2 separate regions of the Homo sapiens genome follow, and region 1 is linked to region 2. The links are contacts of gene promoters, found by promoter capture Hi-C in human tissues and cell types (Jung and others, 2019). All regions are on one chromosome and are shown on one strand. The core of a region is centred on a gene start or on the middle of the fragment in contact, and the rest is flanking DNA. Distances in the headings are between cores, read along the strand shown.

The links. Contacts are between HindIII fragments. The study calls those that stand out against the background at their distance.
Region 1: the fragment with the promoter of OR11H6 here is called in contact with the fragment with the promoter of OR11G2 in region 2 in 6 of the 25 tissues and cell types used here (adrenal gland, neural progenitor cells, psoas muscle and 3 more).

Annotation. Positions count from the first base shown.
Region 1 is chr14:20,221,877-20,226,304 of GRCh38, reverse strand. OR11H6 (olfactory receptor family 11 subfamily H member 6) reads right to left here and starts at 2,595. Exons shown (of 1, transcript NM_001004480.1): 1 at 1,603-2,595. The coding sequence starts at 2,595. The coding sequence ends at 1,603. The HindIII fragment of the contact is 13,960 bases long and covers 1,443-4,428 here.
Region 2 is chr14:20,187,869-20,192,310 of GRCh38, reverse strand. It overlaps OR11G2 (olfactory receptor family 11 subfamily G member 2), which reads right to left and starts at 1,415. Exons shown (of 2, transcript NM_001386033.1): 1 at 645-1,415. The HindIII fragment of the contact is 15,749 bases long and covers 1-4,442 here.

The DNA of each region.
Region 1 (4,428 bases), core at 1,346-3,845, 33 kb before region 2:
ATAACTAAAAGGTGTGTTTTCATTTTAAGTAGATTCAACTCTTAGTTGATTGCCTTTTTGTTTCAGCCTAGAGTTTGGATACTAAAATGAAATTTGTTCTTGACATAATTTTCTCTGAATATTTTTCTAACTTAGACTTTGCCCTACAGCCTCTGAGAGGCACCTGTTGCTCTGTGGTTGACATGAAAACTGCTGGGTACAAATAAAAATATGTTTAGGGCATCATTCCTAGTATAAATAATATTGGGGTTGTCATGACTAATTTAGAGAGGAAGTACTGTGAGTAAAGATACCCAGTTGGGACTAAATATGTTTGAGGACTGATCATCATGAAATGCAAGACTTGTACAGTGGATCACTAGGAGAGAAAACTGAAGGGAGCAGTGTGTTGAGTGAAGGCCTTGAATGGCAAAGAGTTTGGTTTTTATGTCTAAGGGATAGAGGTATGAAGCATAGAGGTTTAAAGCATACTCTGTTCTTGGTGTGAAAGACAACCTCAAATAATGGAAGATGTCTATTACTATGTTTTTTTCTGGTGGCCTCTTGACACACAAATATTCTTTAAGAATATTTATTTTCTGGCCGGGTGTGGTGGCTCACGCCTGTAATCCCAGCACTTTAGGAGGTCAAGGGTAGGGGGGTGGATCACTTGAGGTCAGGAGTTCGAGACCAGCTTGGCCAACATGGTGAAACCCCATCTCTACTAAAAATACAAAAATGACCCCATCTCTACTAAAAATACAATTAGCCAGGTGTGGCGGTGGGCACCTGTAATCCCAGCTACTTGGGAGGCTGAGGCAGGAGGATCACTTGAAGCCGGGAGGCGGAGATTGCAGTGAGCCAAGACTGTGCCACTGCACTCCAGCCTGGGCAACAAGAGCGAAACTTCGTCTCAGAAACAAACAAACAAACAAACAAACAAAAATATGTATATTTTCTGAATTGAAAATATCTCACTTTTTTTTTTTTTTTTTTTTTTTTTTTTTTTAAGATGCAGTCTTGCTCTATCATGCAGGCTAGGGGGCAGTGGCGTGATATCAGCTCACTGCAAGCTTAGCCTCCCAGGTTCAAGCAATTCTCATTCCTCAGCCTCCTGAGTAGCTGGGATTACAGGTGTGTGCCATCACGCCCAGCTAATTTTTGTATTTTTAGTAGAGACAGGGTTTCATCATATTGCCCAGGCTGGTCTCGAATTCCTGATCTCAGGTGATCCTCCCGCTTTGGCCTCCCAAAGTGCTGGGATTACAGTCGTGAGCCACCGTGCCCAGCCAGATCTCACTCTTTTGAAAGGTTTCAGTACACATGCAATTGATTTCTTCTGTCAGCTAAGATTAAAACTAGCAAAGATACATCACAGAAAAATAATATACGTATATATACACCCACCCACCACATAACTACTCAGTGAGGCCACATATGTTTAAAATGTTTTATTGAGCATTGGCATTTATCATTAATGAGCTGAATTTAACTGCTAAGGAACTGTGAAAGATAAGTCTGTCTACCTGAGTGTGAGCCAGAACATACTACTGAAGCTACTCTCTATAGTTATAAAAAATTAAGGTCAGAAGTGGCCAATTTGGCTTCTTTTTCAAAGATATCTCAGTTTTGGCTAACTGTTAACCCCAGGACTCTCTTTAGAGCATCTTTCATGTCTTTGTTTCGAAGACTATAGATAAGGGGATTTAAGAATGGAGTCATTGCTGTGTATACCAGAGTGATGATCTTCTGCATTCCTGCTGGGTTCCCTGATGTTGGGCTCACATACATCACCATAAGGGTTCCATAGAATAGAGACACCACCATTAGGTGGGACCCACATGTGGAGAAAGCTTTAGTTCGACCAGCACCAGAGGGAATACAAAGCACAGCTCTGATGACCAGAGTGTAAGATCCCAAGATGGAGAGGAAGGGCCCAAAGATAATCATCGAGTTGAAGGTGTAACAGATAAGCTCAGTGGAAGGAGCAGAGATGCAGGCCAGTGCAAACAATGGGCCTGGGTCACACACCAAGTGGTCAATGATGTTGGGCCCACAGAAGGGAAGTTGGGAGATAAGAACAATAGGGACTGGATAGCAGAGAAATCCGCCTACCCAGCATACACAGACCAGAATTATACAGAACTTCCCAGTCATGATGGAGGGGTAGTGTAATGGACGACAGATGGCCAGGTACCGATCATAAGCCATAACTGATAAAAAGAAACACTCTGTTGTACCCAGTGAAAAAAAGAAATAGAATTGCAGGAAGCAACCAGAGAAGGAGATGGTTTTAATCTCAGAGAGGATATTGACTAGCATGTTTGGGACAGTGGAGGAAATGTACCAGATCTCTAGAAAGGCAAAGTTTCCCAGAAGGATGTACATGGGTGTGTGGAGCCGCCTGTCCAATTTCACTGCACAGACAATAGCTCCATTCCCTAGCAGTGTCAGGAGATAGAGAACCAGGATGAATGAGAAGAAGCAGCTCTGCATCTCCCTTTGACCATGGAAACCCAGGAGGACAAACTCAGTCACAAAATGCATTGTTCTGTTCTGGGGTCCCAAAGCTGTTAGAAAAACAGAAGTAACCAAAGAATGAATAATAAAGAACATTTGGAGATTTTGCTAACTCATGCTGGATGATGTACTAAGTATTTTTACATACATTATCTCATTTGGTCTTCCTAATGACTCTTTGAGCTGCGAGGAGGTATTCTTTACCCTTCTCTTTCACAGACAGGGTAATTGAAGTTCAAAGAGATTAGAAGGGTTCACTTAAACATATGTACAAAGCCAGTAACGCCCAGATACACTGGCCTATTTGGAGATTGGTTTGGAACAAATCATGTTTCACTTCAAATTTTCTATAACCCTGAGTCTCAGTAATGTTTCATCTTTAATGGTAAAATCACTGCCCCTTAGATACTCTACATATAAATATAAACTTTGGATATATTCTTTTACTTTAAAGCAAAATTGAGTATAAATCTGAAGCAAGAATAGTTGCTATATTAAAATTGCCTTCTTAGAGCCTCATATGTAGAAGTCCAATAAAAAGCAGATAGGAATTAAACTTTGGGGAGTCTTCAGCTCCCTTCCTTTTGCTACTCTCAGGGAGGTGCTGCAGAACCCTTAGGAATCTGTAAAATGGTCTGAAAGCTACAAATCTAGTTCCCCCCAGATCACATTCTCCCTGGTGGCATCTGGATTTGCTGAATAATCCAGCCCCTTTTTCTCGTGAGGAGCTCTAGTTCTCTCAAAGCCCTTCTTTATGGTGAGCAAACTTTGTATCCTTTATTACTTTTACCCATTGATCTTGGTACTCCCCAAGTCAGCAGGTAAACTTTGACTTTGTTGAAACTACACAAAATAAGTCTAATTCCTCTCCCATGATGGTGGTAGTGAGGTCTTAAATAACTGAAGGCAGCTGTTATGTCCCTTACCTATGACTTCTTTGGCAGGCCACCATTTTCCCTGCTTGTCAGCCTCCTTCTCCAACAAATTGTACTATTCTACATCATGACTTAGCTCTTGAGGGAGCTTGCTGTTGGGTAAATCAATTTCTCTAGTAATAAAGCCATGTGCCTTTATTTTTGCTAGAAATTAAGTCCTAAACTTTATAATTTGTCCCTTCATTATCTTGCTTTTCCATAAATTAAATAATGAATAAAAGAGTCACCTCAGGATGTGCAGAGAACAGAAAGATCTTTCTGATATTTTCTAAATCAGGAGTTGAGACAAGATAAATAACTTAGATATTTTGCTAACAATTTTCTAGAAACTATTGGTCCAGCAGGCTTATTTCTGTGTCCTCAAATATCCTTGTTAAAGTTCAGAATATTTGGCTGGGTAAGCCACTATCAATATTTTAAATTTAGCAATATAATGACTTTAAAATTAGGATAATTTATTGTATTATTAGCGTCACTGTTAAGATACTCACAAAATTCCATCTTTACATCATTTATATGATCCACAGAGAGCGAGAGGCCTGCCTTTCAGTACTTGATCAAACCTGGAGCAAACCCAAAAGCATAAATGTTTTATTGCCGAGGTAACTTTGGATATTCATGTTAACAATATTTTAAGAATAATACAACAATTTCTCTAATAAACATGATTTTTAGGAAAATGTAAATTTTGTCCAAGCAGTTCAGTTTAATGAATAATAATTATCATGATCACATGCATCAGAATTTTTAGGACAGTTGTAATTACTCTCAAATATACTCTCCATAACTGCTTGTATTTCCCACACTACATGCTATGTCATTCTTGGAAAATATAATTACTGGGCTTGCAATTTAAAAAAACGGTTGGCAGTTAGAATGGCGATCATTAAAAAGTCAGGAAACAACAGGTGCTGGAGAGGATGTGGAGAAATAGGAACACTTTTACACTGTTGGTGGGACTGTAAACTAGTTCAACCCTTGTGGAAGTCAGTGT
Region 2 (4,442 bases), core at 166-2,665:
CTTTTCATTATGAAATACTATTATTCCAAGTATCCCACATGTATACATGATATGAAGACTTTATGGATCTAGAGGTGATGTTTGTTGCATTTGTCTCTCAGATGAAAATGCCATTTGGGGGCTGGGCTTGGTGGTTCACACCTGTAATCCCAGCTATTTGGGAGGCCGAGGCAGGAGATCACCTGAGGTCGGGAGTTTGAGACCAACCTGGCCAACATGTTGAAACCTCGTTTTTACTAATACTACAAAAATTAGCCGGGTATGGTCATATGTGCCAGTAATCTCAGCTACTTGGGAGGCTGAAGCAGGAGAATCAACTGAACCCGGGAGGCAGAGGTTGTGGTGAGCCGTGATCGTGCCACTGCACTCCAGCTTGGGTGACAGAGTGAAACTCTGTCTCAAAAAAAAAAAAAAAAAAATGCCAGTTGGGTAGTTTGACATTTATACACGAAGGCAAAATTTCCAGGCAAGTTCCCCCTCAGGGCAATTTTTCGACTTTGAGAGTCTAACAAAGCTGCCCTAGAAAACAAGAAGGGTGTGAAAATGATTCTCTGTGTGCTGTCACCATTTGACGCTTGACTTAAGTAGATCAAGAGCGTGTGACAGAAAAAAGATATTTCTAACAAGAGTGTAATGTTACTCACCTTTTATTACCTAGCTCCTCTGTACAGAGAGCAGCAGCAGTGTTTACCTGGCACAGGGCTAAACTGGAGCTGTCCAAAGTGGCAGGCAGATTCCCCCGAGTTGGTTACAGAAGCAAGTGTGAATACAGGTTCAGTGGTGTTAAAGCTGTGGATGCTGTACAGGATGCTTGGATTGGGTCAATTAACTTTCCAAACAAGAAAACAACAGCTTCACCCTCATTATATCTCAGAAATGTTGGATTAGACCCACATTAAGTTAGCCAGCTCCTGTGCTATAATACATAATATGAGACAAAAGCATTTCTCTGATGTTTTACTTTTTCCCCAAGGCTAGCTCAAAAAGGCAGTGTGGATCGGAAGCATTATTGTTCTGATCTCAGCAGCACACATCCATCTGCTTCACTTGATTTTGACTACATATCATTACACCTATTTACTTTCTGCAAAGTCCTTGAAAATAAGAACAGCTTTTCCCTTTATGAGAAGGGGTAGGCAACTCAGGCATAGTAGAAAAACAGTGGATTTGAGTAAGGAGCCTAGGACTTGAATTACAACCTAGGCTTTACCAATCCTGGAAACTTTGTCCATTGCATCATCTCCTTTCATGGACAAAAGGGGATCACAAACCTGAAGTTTCTCTGAGACTGTCTGATTGTCCTGGAGAGGAGAGGTAGCCTTTTCTATGTTAGCCATCAAAGAATGAAGGAGCAGAAATAGGGAGAAGGTCTCTTGGTGTTTGCTGGAGGATGGAGGCATTATGAACAGAGCCCTCAGGGAGTGAGCTCTGGTCCTGTGCTCAGTGAGGATCAATTTACCAGCTAGAGGAACAGTGTCAGGAGACTGTTCTGTGCTGGTTCTTTCCTTCCTCTGGGGCCTCCGTTCTCTGGAGATCCTTGGTGCCTCCTGCCTTTGTTTTCCAGTAGAGAAGAAAATATCTTTTCCAGCCTCCAAATTGTCAGGGATGGTATGAGATATAATCAGTCTTCAAGCTCACTCAGAGCACCTACCAGGTATCCAAGGGAAAGTCTACCAAAGTAACACAGGGTGTTATGGCTGTGATGCAGAAAGCTGTTCACTGGGCCTCTAGTGAGTGGTGTCAGTTATGGGTTTTGGGGACAGAGTTACCTCTGATTTTTTTGAGAAAAAAGAGATGGCTGGATTTGTGATGAGATCTCAGGCATAGAGGGCAGTGTAATGACAGCAGGAATCCATCTCCTCTCAGGACCACCATGATTTTCTTATAGACCTTTTCCTTTCTTGCTTGGGGTTGAGGTCTGTGACTCCCAAGCAGTTGCTTCTCAGGGCACACTTGCCAGGCCCAGGAGAGGCCAGAGCAGGGCACTAGCTCTTCCCCAGCAGTTGCATCTGAAGTTGGGCTCTAAGCCTTTCTCATCCCTGATGCAGGTGCAGGTCTTTCAGCACAACTCATTTGCTGTCCTTCTATCTCCAAATATGGAAGAAGTTTTATCTCAAAGACTTAGTTAATTTTACTTCCTCCTTTCAGCAGCTTTGATTTTTTTTCTCTGTTGACAGCATTAGATCTAAAATTGGCAAATAAAACCCCCTATGATTCAGCTCTAACATATTATTATGTTTTAAAATTTTAACTTTTATTTTAGATTCAGGAAGTACACGTGCAGGTTTGTTACATGGTTATATTGTGTGATGCTGAGGTTTGGGATGTAATTGATCCTGTCACCCAGGTAGTAGGTACCTAGTAGTACCTACTAAGCATAGTACTTAGTAGGTAGCTTTTTAGCCCTTCATCCCTTCCCTCCTCATCTGGTAGTTTCCAGTGTCTATTGTTGCCATCTTTATGTCCATGTGCACCCTCTGTTTAGCTCTCACTTGTAGGTGAGAACATGTGATATTTGGTTTTCTGTTCCTGTGTTAATCTGCTTAGGATAATGATTTTCAGCTGCACCCATGTTGCTGAACAGGACATGATTTCATTGTTTTTCATGGTTGCATATTATTCCATGGTGTATATGTATCACATTTTCTTTGTACAACCCAGTGCTAATGGACGCCTAGGTTGATTCCATGTCTTTGCTATTGTGACTAGTTCTGTGATGAACATATGAGTGCATGTATGTTTTGGTAGAATGATTTATTTTCCTTTGGTTATATATCCAATAATGGGACTGTTGGGTAGAATGGTAGTTCTAAGTTTTTTGAGAAATCTCCAAACTGCTATCCACAGGGGCTGACCTAATTTACATTTCCACCAGTAGTGTATAAGCATTCCCTTTTTCTCTGTAGTCTCACCCATACATACTGTTTTTTGACTTCTTACCCACAGCCATTCTGACTGGTGTGAGAGGATATCTCATTGTGGTTTTAATTTGTATTTCTCTGATCATTAGTGATGTTGAGAGCATTTTTAAAACTATGTTTGTTGGCCACTTGTATATCTTCTTTTTTTTGGGATGGAGTCTCATTCTGTTGCTCAGGCAGGAGTACAGTGGCACGATCTCAGCTCACTGCAACCTCTGCCTCCCAGGTTCAAGCAATTCTCCTGCCCCAGCCTCCCAGGTAGCTGGGATTACAGGCGTGCAATGCCACGCCCAGATAATTTTTGTAATTTTAGTAGAGGTGGGGTTTCACCATGTTGGCCAGGCTGGTCTCGAACTCCTGACCTCAGATGATGCACCCACCTTGGCCTCCCAAATTGCTGGGATTACAGGTGTGAGCCACCATGCCCAGCCTATCTTCTTTTGAGAAGAGTTTGTTCATGTCTTCTGATCTCTTTTTAATGGTGGTGTTTGTTTTTTGCTTGTTGAATTAAGTTCCTTATAGATTTGGATATGATACCTTTGTTGGATGCATAGTTTATGAATATTTTCTCCCATTCTGTAGGTTGTCTGTTTACTCTGCTGATAGTTACTTTTGCGATGTAGAAGCTCTTTAGTTTAATTAGGTCCCACTTGTCAACTTTTGTTTTTGTTGCAGTTGCTTTTGAGGACTTAGTCATAAATTCTTTCCTAAGGTCCATGAACAGAATACTGTTTTGGAGGGGTTCTTCTAGGATTCTTATAGTTTGAGGTCTTACATTTAAATCTTTGTTCTACTCTTTGAGCTAACTTTTGTATATGGTGAAAGATAGGGTCCAGTTTCAATTTTTTGCACATGGCTAGCTTACTATTGCAGTATTGAATTGAATAGGGAGTGGTTTCCCCACTGAATAGGAAATCCTTTCCCCATTGCTTATTTTTGTTGACTTTACTGAAGATCAGATGTCTATAGGTATGCGGCTTTATTTCTCAGTTATCTATTCTGTTCAGTTGGCCTATATGTCTGTTCTCGTATCAGTATCATGATGTTTCGGTTAGTGTAGTTTTATAGTATAGTTTGAAATCCATCAGTATGATGCCACCAGCTTTGTTCTGTTTGCTTAGGATTGCCCTGGTTATTTGAGCTCTTTGGGGTCTATATAAATTTGGAATAGTTTTTTTAATGCTATGAAAAATGACATTGGTAATTTATTAGGAATAGCGTTGAATCTGTATATTGCTTTGGGCAGCATGGCCATTTTAGTGGAAGGATATTGATTCTTCCACTCCATGATCATGGAATGTTTTTTCCATTTGTTTATCTAAAACTGTCACAGAGTTAACAGAAGACTCTTTTTTTTTTCCCAGAGGTGTAGATTTTCCAGCTATATTTTAATATGTCTTCTCATCTAAGCACTACATTACCTTCTTTCCTGAAAGCAGGAAAGGGAATTTCCATGGGGGCTTCTTAGTCAGCTTTTTGTAGGCTTTCCCGAGGACAGAGGCAGGTGTCTTTGTAATACCA